Regions from separate parts of the Homo sapiens genome. Here regions 1, 3 and 4 are each linked to region 2. Evidence: promoter capture Hi-C in 16 types of primary human blood cells and fetal thymus (Javierre and others, 2016). All regions are on one chromosome and are shown on one strand. The core of a region is centred on a gene start or on the middle of the fragment in contact, and the rest is flanking DNA. Distances in the headings are between cores, read along the strand shown. Region 1 overlaps PRKACB (protein kinase cAMP-activated catalytic subunit beta). Region 2 holds the start of SPATA1 (spermatogenesis associated 1). Region 3 overlaps PRKACB (protein kinase cAMP-activated catalytic subunit beta). Region 4 has its middle 84 kb from the start of SSX2IP.

What was found. The method cuts DNA at HindIII sites, captures the fragments that hold promoters and counts their contacts. A CHiCAGO score of 5 or more calls a contact.
Region 1: a contact is called between a fragment that was not itself captured here and the fragment with the promoter of SPATA1 in region 2, in 1 of 17 cell types (fetal thymus). The highest score is 5.0, in fetal thymus.
Region 3: a fragment that was not itself captured here is called in contact with the fragment with the promoter of SPATA1 in region 2 in 7 of 17 cell types (fetal thymus, M0 macrophages, erythroblasts and 4 more); the score reaches 6.9 in fetal thymus.
Region 4: a fragment that was not itself captured here is called in contact with the fragment with the promoter of SPATA1 in region 2 in 4 of 17 cell types (megakaryocytes, M2 macrophages, fetal thymus and 1 more); the score reaches 7.4 in megakaryocytes.

Annotation. Positions count from the first base shown.
Region 1 is chr1:84,201,955-84,204,686 of GRCh38, reverse strand. It overlaps PRKACB (protein kinase cAMP-activated catalytic subunit beta), which reads right to left. Exons shown (of 10, transcript NM_182948.4): 8 at 1,882-2,004. Among named protein-coding and RNA genes, the nearest start is that of PRKACB, 59 kb to the right of the region's middle. The HindIII fragment of the contact is 1,077 bases long and covers 755-1,831 here.
Region 2 is chr1:84,504,986-84,507,685 of GRCh38, reverse strand. It overlaps SPATA1 (spermatogenesis associated 1), which reads right to left and starts at 1,300. Exons shown (of 14, transcript NM_001397487.1): 1 at 1,268-1,300. GNG5 (G protein subunit gamma 5) reads left to right here and starts at 1,105. Exons shown (of 4, transcript NM_005274.3): 1 at 1,105-1,250; 2 at 1,385-1,675. The coding sequence starts at 1,595. RefSeq lists silencers at 1,380-1,459, 1,710-1,839. The HindIII fragment of the contact is 7,618 bases long and covers 1-2,700 here.
Region 3 is chr1:84,185,090-84,187,789 of GRCh38, reverse strand. It overlaps PRKACB (protein kinase cAMP-activated catalytic subunit beta), which reads right to left. Exons shown (of 10, transcript NM_182948.4): 5 at 2,608-2,690. Among named protein-coding and RNA genes, the nearest start is that of PRKACB, 42 kb to the right of the region's middle. The HindIII fragment of the contact is 1,202 bases long and covers 810-2,011 here.
Region 4 is chr1:84,772,880-84,775,730 of GRCh38, reverse strand. No RefSeq gene overlaps it. Among named protein-coding and RNA genes, the nearest start is that of SSX2IP, 84 kb to the right of the region's middle. RefSeq lists an enhancer at 372-871. The HindIII fragment of the contact is 3,509 bases long and covers 1-2,851 here.

The DNA.
Region 1 (2,732 bases), core at 44-2,543, 300 kb after region 2:
TTATTATAACATTTACATTCTTAGTTTTTGTATTAGTAAAATATTCTTCTTCCATTTGTGATTTTAATGTATTTTGGTTCTCTCATCATTCTTCATATGACCTTTAGTCCTCTTGAGAGTCTACACTTCTCAAATTCTTCAAAAATAAATCACTGCCTTGTCTGTTAATTTTTCTCAAAGTTTTGTTTTGTTCATATCAAAAGTTCTGCTGGGAGAAAACAATTACAAAGATAAGAAGTCTGAAGCCAGAGATCTACAAATGTAAGAAGAACAGCAGTGATACTGATACTTGTTTAAATAAGTACTGCATTCTGCTTTTCTGTATTGCCTTTATCAGTGCACAGCATTCAACACCTAGCTAGGTTTATTTATCTGTAAGAGGTATTTATTTTTTTACCTTTGACATAGTTGGAGTATAAATTCTTTAGTCAGTCTCCTAATTTGTGAATACTGATAATAAATAAAACTTTCTACATAAAACGTGGCAAAATACAAGGGAAAATCTCATGACCCAGGTAGAGTGCATATGTACTATGAGATAGGGAACAATACTGTGCTGAAATGTATGTTCTAGGTGATTGGATAGACTAATTCTATTGGCAAATGTCTTGTTGCTACAGCCCAGCTGTGCAGCATCTATGATTTAAATTTGAGTGTTGGCAAAAAAAATAAATTACCACATTAGAGACATTCAGGGTACCTTGTGAATAGTTAACAATGGAAATTGTAAGTTGATAGATGCCAAGGGTAAGCTTTCACACTAAATGTAGAGCTTGAATATGGCTGAGATACAAAGAAATAAAGACCTTCCCTCTACTATCTCCTTCCGGCTTATCTCTGCCTAAGAAGGTCACAAAATACAAAGCAAACAAATAAAAAATAAAACAAAAAAACCTCAACTCTATAACATCTCAGGCTAATGTGATAAAGATTGATGCTCTATTTCCTGATCATATTCTAAATGGGACTATGTGGGAAAGAAAAGAAAAGACAAAGCAGTACCACATGTAGAAATAGAAAGAAGGGAAAATAAGCAAAATATCCCTTCCCATATATTTTGTCATTAATGTATAGAAGGTCTCCTTCTGGGAATGTTTAAAAGCCTATTCTTTCATTGCTGCATGGTAGGAAATTCAAGCTCATTTCTATTGAATTGACAATGGTCTTTTAAAAAAAGATCCGAGGTCTGAGCTAAGGCAACAGCAAATGACTGACCCTAAACAAAACACTCTTGAAAGCAAATTAGAGGTTATAAGTGCAAAAGAAGGAAGGTTTATGAAGAAATTTACAAAATGTAAAATACTACAACACAGTAAGTCTACTCATGTTGAAGAAAAATTAATGTTATTTCCATGTTTGCTAAAAACCAATGACAAGTATAATCACAATCTATATGAACAATTCTGTTAAAATCAATTCTATAAATTTCCATCTGAAAAAGGCTTATTCATTTTATATTTACTTTTACTTCCAATGTTATAGTATTGGACATAATTAAAACAAGAAGTCTCTCCTGAAAATGGAAGGGCATATAAAACAGCCCCTAAAACTTTTCTCCATGAAGATAGACACATGAAATAATAAACTATTTTTATTTATTTGAAGGAATATCGAGAATTATGGCTATGATCCTGTTCTTTGTGATAAAAATACTAAATACAGAAATTGCTTTACTGTTTTGTTAATTTCTTTATAAAACTGCCCTTTTTTTCTTAAGAGACTGAAATGATTCAATTCTTATGATAGTAAGAGCAGCAACTGTAGATTTTTCTATATTTTTCCCAATGTAGAATAATAATTATGACACAATATAGTTTCAATTCATGAAGCTTAAAATTCATATACAGTAATAAGAGAGGAATAATAAAATGTTTTACTTACCTTTCCAGAAACAATCTTTTCATAAATCTGAATTGGTTGGTCTGCAAAGAATGGGGGATAGCCAGCTGCCATTTCATAGATTAGCACTCCTAATGCCCACCAATCCACTGCCTTATTGTAGCCCTGAGATAAACCAACACCAATGTCAATTGTTACTTAAGTTACTCAAAAGAGAATGAAGTCAAAGATAATTTCAAAATGATCTGGAAGCATATAAAAATTTTTTTAAAGCAATTGCTGAGCAGCTATTCAGGACAGAATTTAAAAATGAACCAAATGTATCAGGTCAGATTTAAATTAAACAAAGGAGAGGATTTCCAGATACTGAAATTGGATATTAGGAAAGAGTATTAAATCTTCTTCCTAAAATTATTAAGAATATTATAGACAATGAAATTTTCTTTATTTCACTGGTATAATTTAGTTCTTGCTCAATAACAGGAAGGCAGTTAGACCACATTACTTCTTAAGGCCCACTCTAGGTCCATAATCTTATGAAACAGATTTTCCACAGCATGCCTAGAAAGATCAAAAGTTTTCAAAGAAAATAATAGAAACTGGACTACATAGTAAATAATGAAGTTGACTTCAAAATACTCTATATTTTTGGAGTTAGGAGGGTGAATGTGCTAGGGATAATCCCATCTGCTTCATAGGATTTTGTGAAAGCAAAAAGTTTAATGTAAAATTCAATTCATGTAAATATTTAGGTATACTTTACTTCTGCTATCTACTGTCTTGCTTCCTATATCTAAAAGATATGCAGGAAAAAAATGAATTCACAGAGTTTTGTGAGGACTGTATCAAATGAAAGGGAGTAACGTGTGTAAAAAGTGCTTTGCAAACCAAAT
Region 2 (2,700 bases), core at 51-2,550:
ATACTTGTGTTTAATCTTACAAATCTGTAAAGTATGAATGACGTTTTAGCATTATACAGTCAACAAAGCACCAAAGGTGAAATAATTACAATACCTTTTGGGAAAAGACAATATTTATTGAGATAGCTTTCACATTCTTTTTACATATAATGTCATTTCATTCCGAAAAACAACTCTACGAAGCTGTATAATTTACTTTGAAATAAGGAAATAAAGCCTCAGTAACTTAAGTGGCTTGCCCAAGAATACCGTAAGTAGCAGAGCCAGAATTCAAACCCTGGTTTTAACCCCAATCATTACATCCGTATGAATTAAGTAAAATGCTAAACTTACGATGTACATTTTTGCGAACTGATATAAACTGTTGAGTAAATAAATTAGATTTTGTTGACCAGTGCAATTACACATGCTTCCCTAATAAAAAATTTGAAATCCATTAATGATAAAATTATTAACATTAATGGAAAACATCAGCGCATTCGGAGATTGACTACCCGAAAAGAAATAGGAAACATCTGCCCTTAGTGCTGTGACATAACACACATATTTCCGTGGATGAAAGAAAGACCTACTGGCTGAGCCTATTTTGTTTGGTTAGACCCTACCCTCTCTCCTAAAAACTCCTTTGGTACTCAATTTCAAGCAGGAGGTAATAAATTACAACGGAAATACTAAAGAGCAAACTTTCCGGAAACACAAAAATAAGTTTTATTTTAAAAAGTACAATAAGCATTAATTCTCCAGAGTAAATGGGTAACCGAGCAGACAGGTGTAATCTTCAGCCAGCACCTTGGCTTCTTCACAATCTCCTTCAGAAAAACCGATTCAAGAGCTAAGAAGCCAGTAAAGTCAAACCTCGAGAAGATCCCTTCTCCAGCGAATCAGCGCCCCTGCTCCCCGCCCGCCCGGCTCCGCTGGGTACGCGACAGCGACCTCCGCGCCTGCTCTCCGCCTCGGGTCAGCGGGGCTGGGGGTTGGGGGTGGAACTGAAAATGCCTGTTGGCCAAACTCGGGTCACAGAGAGACACGCCTGTACGGGGCGGGGGTGTGCGGGTGACTCACGCCGGGTGCACAGTAGCTCCTACGCCTCACCCAGTATCTCCCCTCACTTCCCTCAACCCTTCCCACAAACTGGGAGGAAAACTGAGACCTCCTGGTCACCCGCCGCCGGGCCTTTTAGAAACTCCCACAAGCTCTGCCTTCCCTCCCTGGTCCTCTTCAGACCCCCTCTTAGTTCTTCGCGGCTAACGGTAAGCTCTCTCCTTACCTCTCCCTAATCGGCCCCTCTGGAGAGGAAAAGAAAACTTAAGAGTCGGGTCGCGCTAGCCTCCAGCAGCCGCCGCGCCCACCGACTGCTCCGCCCCTTCTCCTCCCCCTCCTCCAGGCTCGCGCTCGGGGCCGGGTGTGGAGCTGGAACAGAGGGCTGGCAAGGCGCGCATGCGCACCGAGGGTGGAGCCGCTGAGCACAGAACCGGAAACTTAGAGACAAAGTTCGGAGCCCCGCCCCCGCCGCGCGCCGCTGAGTTGTCTGGCCCCGCCGACCCACGGCCCACGACCCACCGACCCACGAATCGGCCCGGCCGTCGCGTGCACCATGTCTGGCTCCTCCAGCGTCGCCGCTATGAAGAAAGTGGTTCAACAGCTCCGGCTGGAGGCCGGACTCAACCGCGTAAAAGTGAGCGGGGGCGGGCGGCCGAGGCGGGAGGAAGGCGGCGGCGGCGGGTGGGATCCGGCGGCCCAGCTGGCGGGGGCGGGCGGGACACGCGCCGGCCCTCGCTTCCCCTGGAGAGGACGCGCGCTCAGCGGCGGCGATCGGGGAGCGGCCAGCTTTAGAGCAGGCGCCGCGTGGGTCTACGCTGTGTTTTAGGGGGACGATTAGTTCGCCCTTCCGCCCCAGGACTTTCCGAGGCGGGCTGGCCCCTGGGTTGAACCGTGGCCGACATTCCGGTCCTCCTCCGTCTCTACCTCCCTTGGCAGCCTTCTCGGCTGGTCTCACCAACAGCTGCGCCTCCGCGCGCTGTCCGCACCCTTCCTTTCCCACTTTGCCAGCCTCCTGTTTCTCATCGGACAGGGTATTTTCCGACTTTTGATTCAGAGCAGACTTTTCTCCCATTTGATCTTTCCCAAACCTACTTCCTTTAGTATTAAATTCTTACCTTCAACTTCTCTTGTCCGTTGAACACATACTTTTAAGCGAATTATTGCATAACTTAAACTGTGGATTGAATAAGCATTTTTCGAAACGATCCTGGAGTGTAAAGTTCCGGTCAGTGCCCCGTACAACCTCGAACAAAGCGTGCATTTCATACCTATGGCACAGTTTGCTCATATTTGACCTTGGGGATATCGACTGGTCCGCATGCCGGAGAAAATGATTATTGTGGGTAATTATTGGTCTTATTTTGGCGTCTGGTTAGTATTGGCCTTGTCTTGGGGTACTTTGGGAGAAAAAGCCTTTTGTCTGTGTTGATAGAATAACTTGACATTCAAGTGCTGTTCTAAGTATTTCCTGATTTTTACAGTCCTAAATGGATTGGCTTCTTTCTGGTACAATAGGTCAGGCTACATGTGAAACACTTCTGCAGTTAAAAAAAGAAACAAGAATGTAAATCATGTGCCCTGTTAAAAGCAGCCAGTTCCTAAGATGATTTGATTTTATACTCATCAGGCTAGTCTTTATTACTTGCCGAAATGTTTTGT
Region 3 (2,700 bases), core at 161-2,660, 320 kb after region 2:
AGATTCCTATGTAATCAATGTAGAGAAAAAAGTTTTTTCTAAAGAATAACTATAATATACCTGTTATTAGACTGTAAGTCTGTACATTATTTTTGAGTCTTGTTATCTACCTATAGACTAGACAAGGTCCTAAATTCTTCTAGGTTCCTCCAATCGAACTTTCTTCCATAAAATTACTAAAATGAGAACCGCTCTGTTCCTGAAGTCCTGTTAGCTGAAACTATATAAATTTTAAGAAACAAGTCTCATGCCTGATGTATGGGCCACACAGAAAGTTCATCAAACTGCCCAAAGCCATAGCCAGAGACATTTACACTGTAAACAAAGCCAAGAAAGTTGATGTTTTCCATGGTGTGAACAGCTTTTCTCAAAACACTAGAACAAGACTCCATATTGTAATGAAACTCTTACCCCTCTTAATGCCTGCTTTTTCACTTAACCAAATAATATTGTAATTTAAAATTCACAATCAGTAACTGCTATAGGTACTGGTGAGACCTGCTAAAGCCATTGACAAAGCCTGACTTAAGAAATTCTTTCAGTTCATCTAGTCACAACATCGACAATATCCTTAACACAATTTTTTGTTTAATTTGTGCTGGTGGTCCCTCTTGCAAAGTTTGGCATTCTCTGCTTTAGTTCAACCCAGTCATAAAATGTTAGTCAATGGCTATAGCAGGTCTCACCAGTTTCCCCTGGTCCTTTGATTTCTTTAGTTTTTTGCCCTTAGGCCTGGGCTTTAGTTCAAAAGCACTGCACAAATACATTTTACTATATTGTTAATTTTTTTGTACTATCATTTGTAAGCTTTGTTCTTAGTGCCTATCTAATCTTTGTAAAGGCAGCTGTCCCAACAGAATAACGTTAGCCCAACACTTAAAGATGACTGCTAATACCTATGGAAGTGATAAGTGGGAACTCGATGCTGGCTGGACTCCAGACAAAAATCTACTTTGAGAAAAATTTTCCTTCTGGCCTCCTCGTTACTTGAATGTGGCCCAGGTCCCTACATAGACACCCCCCAACAGATAACTTCTCTCATATGTGGGACAGAGACAACCAGAACAAGTCCATCCGAGCACCAAGGAATAATTAAGCCTAACTTCAAGATGGTTGACAAGCAATGCTTTCAGAGAAAGATCTTGATCAAAAGGGAAAAATGTGAAAGCTGATTATACAAATTAGTCATTCTCATCATACCTAACTAAATCAGAGTCGAGGGGCCAGGGAATAACGCACTCAGGGCACACAGCACCTGCTCCAAGAATTAAGGCCAGGTGTGGTAGCTCACACCTGTAATCCCAGCACTTTGGGAGGCCAAGGAGGGTGGATCACTTGAGATCAGGAGTTCGAGACCAGCCTGGCCAACACGGTGAAAACCTGTGTCTACCAAAAATAGAAAAATTAGCCGGATGTGGTGGCGGACACCTCTAGTCCCAGCTACTCGGGTGGCTGAGGCAAGAGAATCACTGGAACCCAGGAGGCAGAGGTTGCAGTAAGTCGAAATGGTGCCGCTGTACTCCAGCCTGGGCAACAGAGGGAGACTCAGTCTCAAAAAAAAAACCAAAAACAAACAAAAAAATTATATTTTCCACAAGTCTAGTTGCTGAAACTGCCTATTGTAACCTGAAACCAGTTTTCTCTAACAGCTACTGAGACAACCTACTGCGACTCTTAGACGAGTCTGACCCACCACCATCACTCACCAATCAGAGCTTGCCAGCTCCCCAAAACTTAACTAGTGCTAGTAAACTTTGTTTCAAAACAAATAAACATAAAATTTCTTTTTATAAAACCTCCAACCTTTTCTTTGTTTTCTAGACACATTGAAGACCACCTAGTCTGTGTATATGCCTCAAACTGCAATTCTTGCTTCCTCAATAAAATGTTGAATTTAGAGATTTGTCTCTACATTTTTATTTTGACTTCAACACACTATACTGAATGAAGCTGTACCTGTTTTTTATTTTAGCTTTATTCTATTAGTGATTATTAATGAACGGTAGAAGCTTATAAACTATTAAGTACAGGTAAAACCATCAGATTCTATAACCTATTTTAATAACTCTGAGATCTTATTAGTCATAACCTGATGAGGTACAAACTCCCGTTAAATTATGTGTATATTTTAAAAACTAAACTTAGCAAGAACTTTAAGGAGAATTAAATTTGTGAAAAACAAACTTTTATAATCTTATTACCATAATACTATTATTATTATTTCTCTATATATTTATTTTCCATCTTCATCCTTAAAACAATCCTCTGTCCTGGAGTTGTATTATTAATCTTTGTTTAATAAATATTGATATTTTAAAATTCAATTAATTTTTCCATTTTCTGAAAACTCTTCAAGTAGTGGACCCTCACAATATCTAGCAGTAGTATAACATTTAAATTGGCTTCAAAGTCCTTTTTTTATATTAAATTTTTATATTCTTTATATTAAAACTTGTGTATGATGTGGCCTCTTTGTTTCCACCTAATGCTTCATATGGCCAAAATATTAATCAAACAAAATAAGTTTTTGGCATTGGCATCAACTTAAAAATCTGGTTAAACAACACAAGCATATAAAGATTTGAAGAAAGCAAAACCATTAGTTACCTGAACCTTCCAATTCTTCTTAGATGTGAAAACATTTCACCCCCAGGGACATATTCCATAACCATGTATAAATTAGAATTATCCTATGAACAA
Region 4 (2,851 bases), core at 275-2,774, 270 kb before region 2:
ATGTTCAGTTTCTAACCTCTTGGCAATAATCATGGTGTGGGAATACACACAGCTCATGTGCTGCAGACATCCGGCCTCTTGGGGTTTCCTTACTAGAGGAATGTGTGGTGATGGCCGCAAAGAAGGGAGCAACCTCCCAGAAGAAAGCCCAGGCACCTTGGAGTGTGAGTAACTACTGGGCTTTTTTTTTTTATTATTATCAGACATCTTGGTGCATCAGAACCAGGACCTGTAAAGGGTGATACTTCGTTAGCTCAAAGAGCCAGGTGGGAGCAGGGTGGACCCTGTGTGTGAACCAAGCATTTCTCCCGCTGAGAGGTGGCGCTATGGAGAGGATGGAAAGGGCTTGCCCTGAGGCACTGACTGGAAGGTGAACCGTGCTCCTCCGCTGCTCTGGGAATTGGCTTTGGTCATTCCTCACTCCTGAGTTGCCTGCCAGCCAAGGGAGGTGCATGTGTTGGGGGAGAAATCCCATCATCATCAACAGCCAGGCCCAGGCCTTTCCTGTGGAGGGTGTATAGCCTGCAGAGCTTAAGGAATTCCTCCCTAGCAGCAAGTCAACCACACCCCCTTTACCTGGGATTTTGGCAGCGTGGATGCTTTTTAAAAGGGCAGATTTTATTTCATTGCAAACAAAAGAGGCATTCAGGCTCCAGGGCACTCTCCTCCCTGGCAGCATCCTCCCAGGCCTGGTGAGAGCGCTCCCTGCAGACCCTCAGGGCAGGCCACACTGCCTCTCAGATGAAGGAGAGGAAGATGGATGGACCGCCACGGGCAAGCCTTCTCTGTGGGAACATAAAGCCCAGCATCTGCTTGGGGCAGAAGCCCCGGGGTGCCCCATGAGAAAGCCGTCAGGGCCCTTGGTGTGCAGTCAGGCAAGCTGATGGGCTGGGCAGCCGCTGCCAGTTAGGGAACACAGAATGCTCCTTCACAGTACAGCGAGTCCATCTGGGCAGGAGCCCTCCACAGCCGGCCTCTCTGGGAATGTGTCTTTGCCATTTGGAAGGCCAAGAGCCATCATCGTTCATTCAGACGCCTCCTGTGAGGCCAAGGAGGCTGGTCCATTGTTCCTGCCTCCCCATTCCCTCTGTCCTCCCACCCACAGCCTGGGGTGCACCTCTCCTCCTCACAGCTGCTGCCTGTGAGTTGTGCAAGGCAGACCTCTTAGAAGTCTCGCTTGGAACTGCCTAGAAGGAGATAGGCATGTTTTAATGGGAATGTAGGCATTTGGTGTGTTTACTGATGTTTCCTGGACAATCTCTTGTCAAAGGTTGAGCCTTTCTGTGTCTCAGAAAGGGAAAAACACATGTGTGGGTTTACACATTGCTGAGAGAGCAGGCAGAAAGCTGCTGCCAGACCATCAGTTTCATCCTCATCATCGGAAAGTATCTTCTAAGCACCTGATTGCCCATCACACCAAATAAAGAGGAAGTCTTGTGTGGGAGGCCACTGAATTGGAAGGGAGGAGGTGTGGATTCCTATCCCTGCTCTGCTTCTAAGCAGCTCTGTGCCTTTTCACTCGGCATGGCTTCCCTTGCTCCAATTCCACAGTGCTATCCCAGATACAGCCCTTCCCCTCTGCATTCCCCAGCCCCTGCCCACAGCAGACATGGCTAATCAATCATGTTCCCATGGCGCCTTACAGCATGGCCTCAGAGACATTAACACAGAGCTCCCGACAGCCACTGCTCACTGATTTGAAGGGCCCTCAAGATTAAACCTGTTTGCTATCACTTCCCTAAAGGAATTTATCACCTGGGAATGAAATTCTATACCAAAAACAGTCCAGGTCACTGGAAAACAAAAGGTTACAAATCAAGAAAGCAATAAGCCCACCTGAACAATCTGGACTGACCAGGTAAGTCATACTTTGGCAAAGACAGATATCCTCGCTTAATCATTTTACTGGGACAGATCCAAGGTTAGAGAAAGTGAAACATACCCTAAATCAGAAATGCCCTTTCTTTCACATATGGAGTTCTGGGAGGGAAGGTACCTTACTCCTGCCCTCTTCGCTTCCTAGATGGGGAGAGGGAGGCCTCAGTGGTTGTGACTTCCCAGGCCCCTCAGTTTGGTGGTGACCTTGTCAAACAAGAGTCCAGGATTTTTGGTCCCCAGCCCAGTGCTCCTTCTACCCACTGACACCCATTGTCTTGCTAGGCAAGGAAAAAACTCCACACTGCTATTTAAAGCACAGGCAATTAATGGTTTTCAATAGTGTTTGTGATGAAAATTAATGAACTATGAGCCAAAGGCCCCTCATTGAGATCATAAAAACAAATGACTAAACCCTGCGTGATTGGACAAGGGAGTCAGAGTTCCTTCATGTTATTGTAACTCCACCACTCCCTTTGGTTATGTGGGGAGTCACCGAACCTGTTTTCAAACCTTGGTTTTCTTGCCCGTACAATGGGCACCAACAGTGCTGCCTGTACTTGCCTCGCCAGGACATAGAAGCCAAAAGCAAACGACATGGAACTTCCAGATCCAGATTAACAGCAGTCACCATGAGCGGAGTGACATGATGTCTGCTATTAGGTAGTCAGCTGCAATTCTGGAATCACCGGCAACATTTGACAAATCCCAGGATATGTTGGGTAAGTGCTCCACAGCTCAGATGATTCCAACTCTAAGGGTCATGCAGGCTTCAGAAGTAGTTTTTATTTAGATAGGAGTGTCAGGGGAGGAACCTAGAAAGACCTTCCGTCGGATGAAGGATTTCTCCAAATCAGCAGTACACCTAAGGGGTCCCCTGCCTCTTTTTGCTTCAGGTATCTGGAGGAGGGTTCTGACAGCAGGGCTGAGGCCCAGGATGACAGTGCTGCATGCCTGCCTAATGACTGTTAACCAG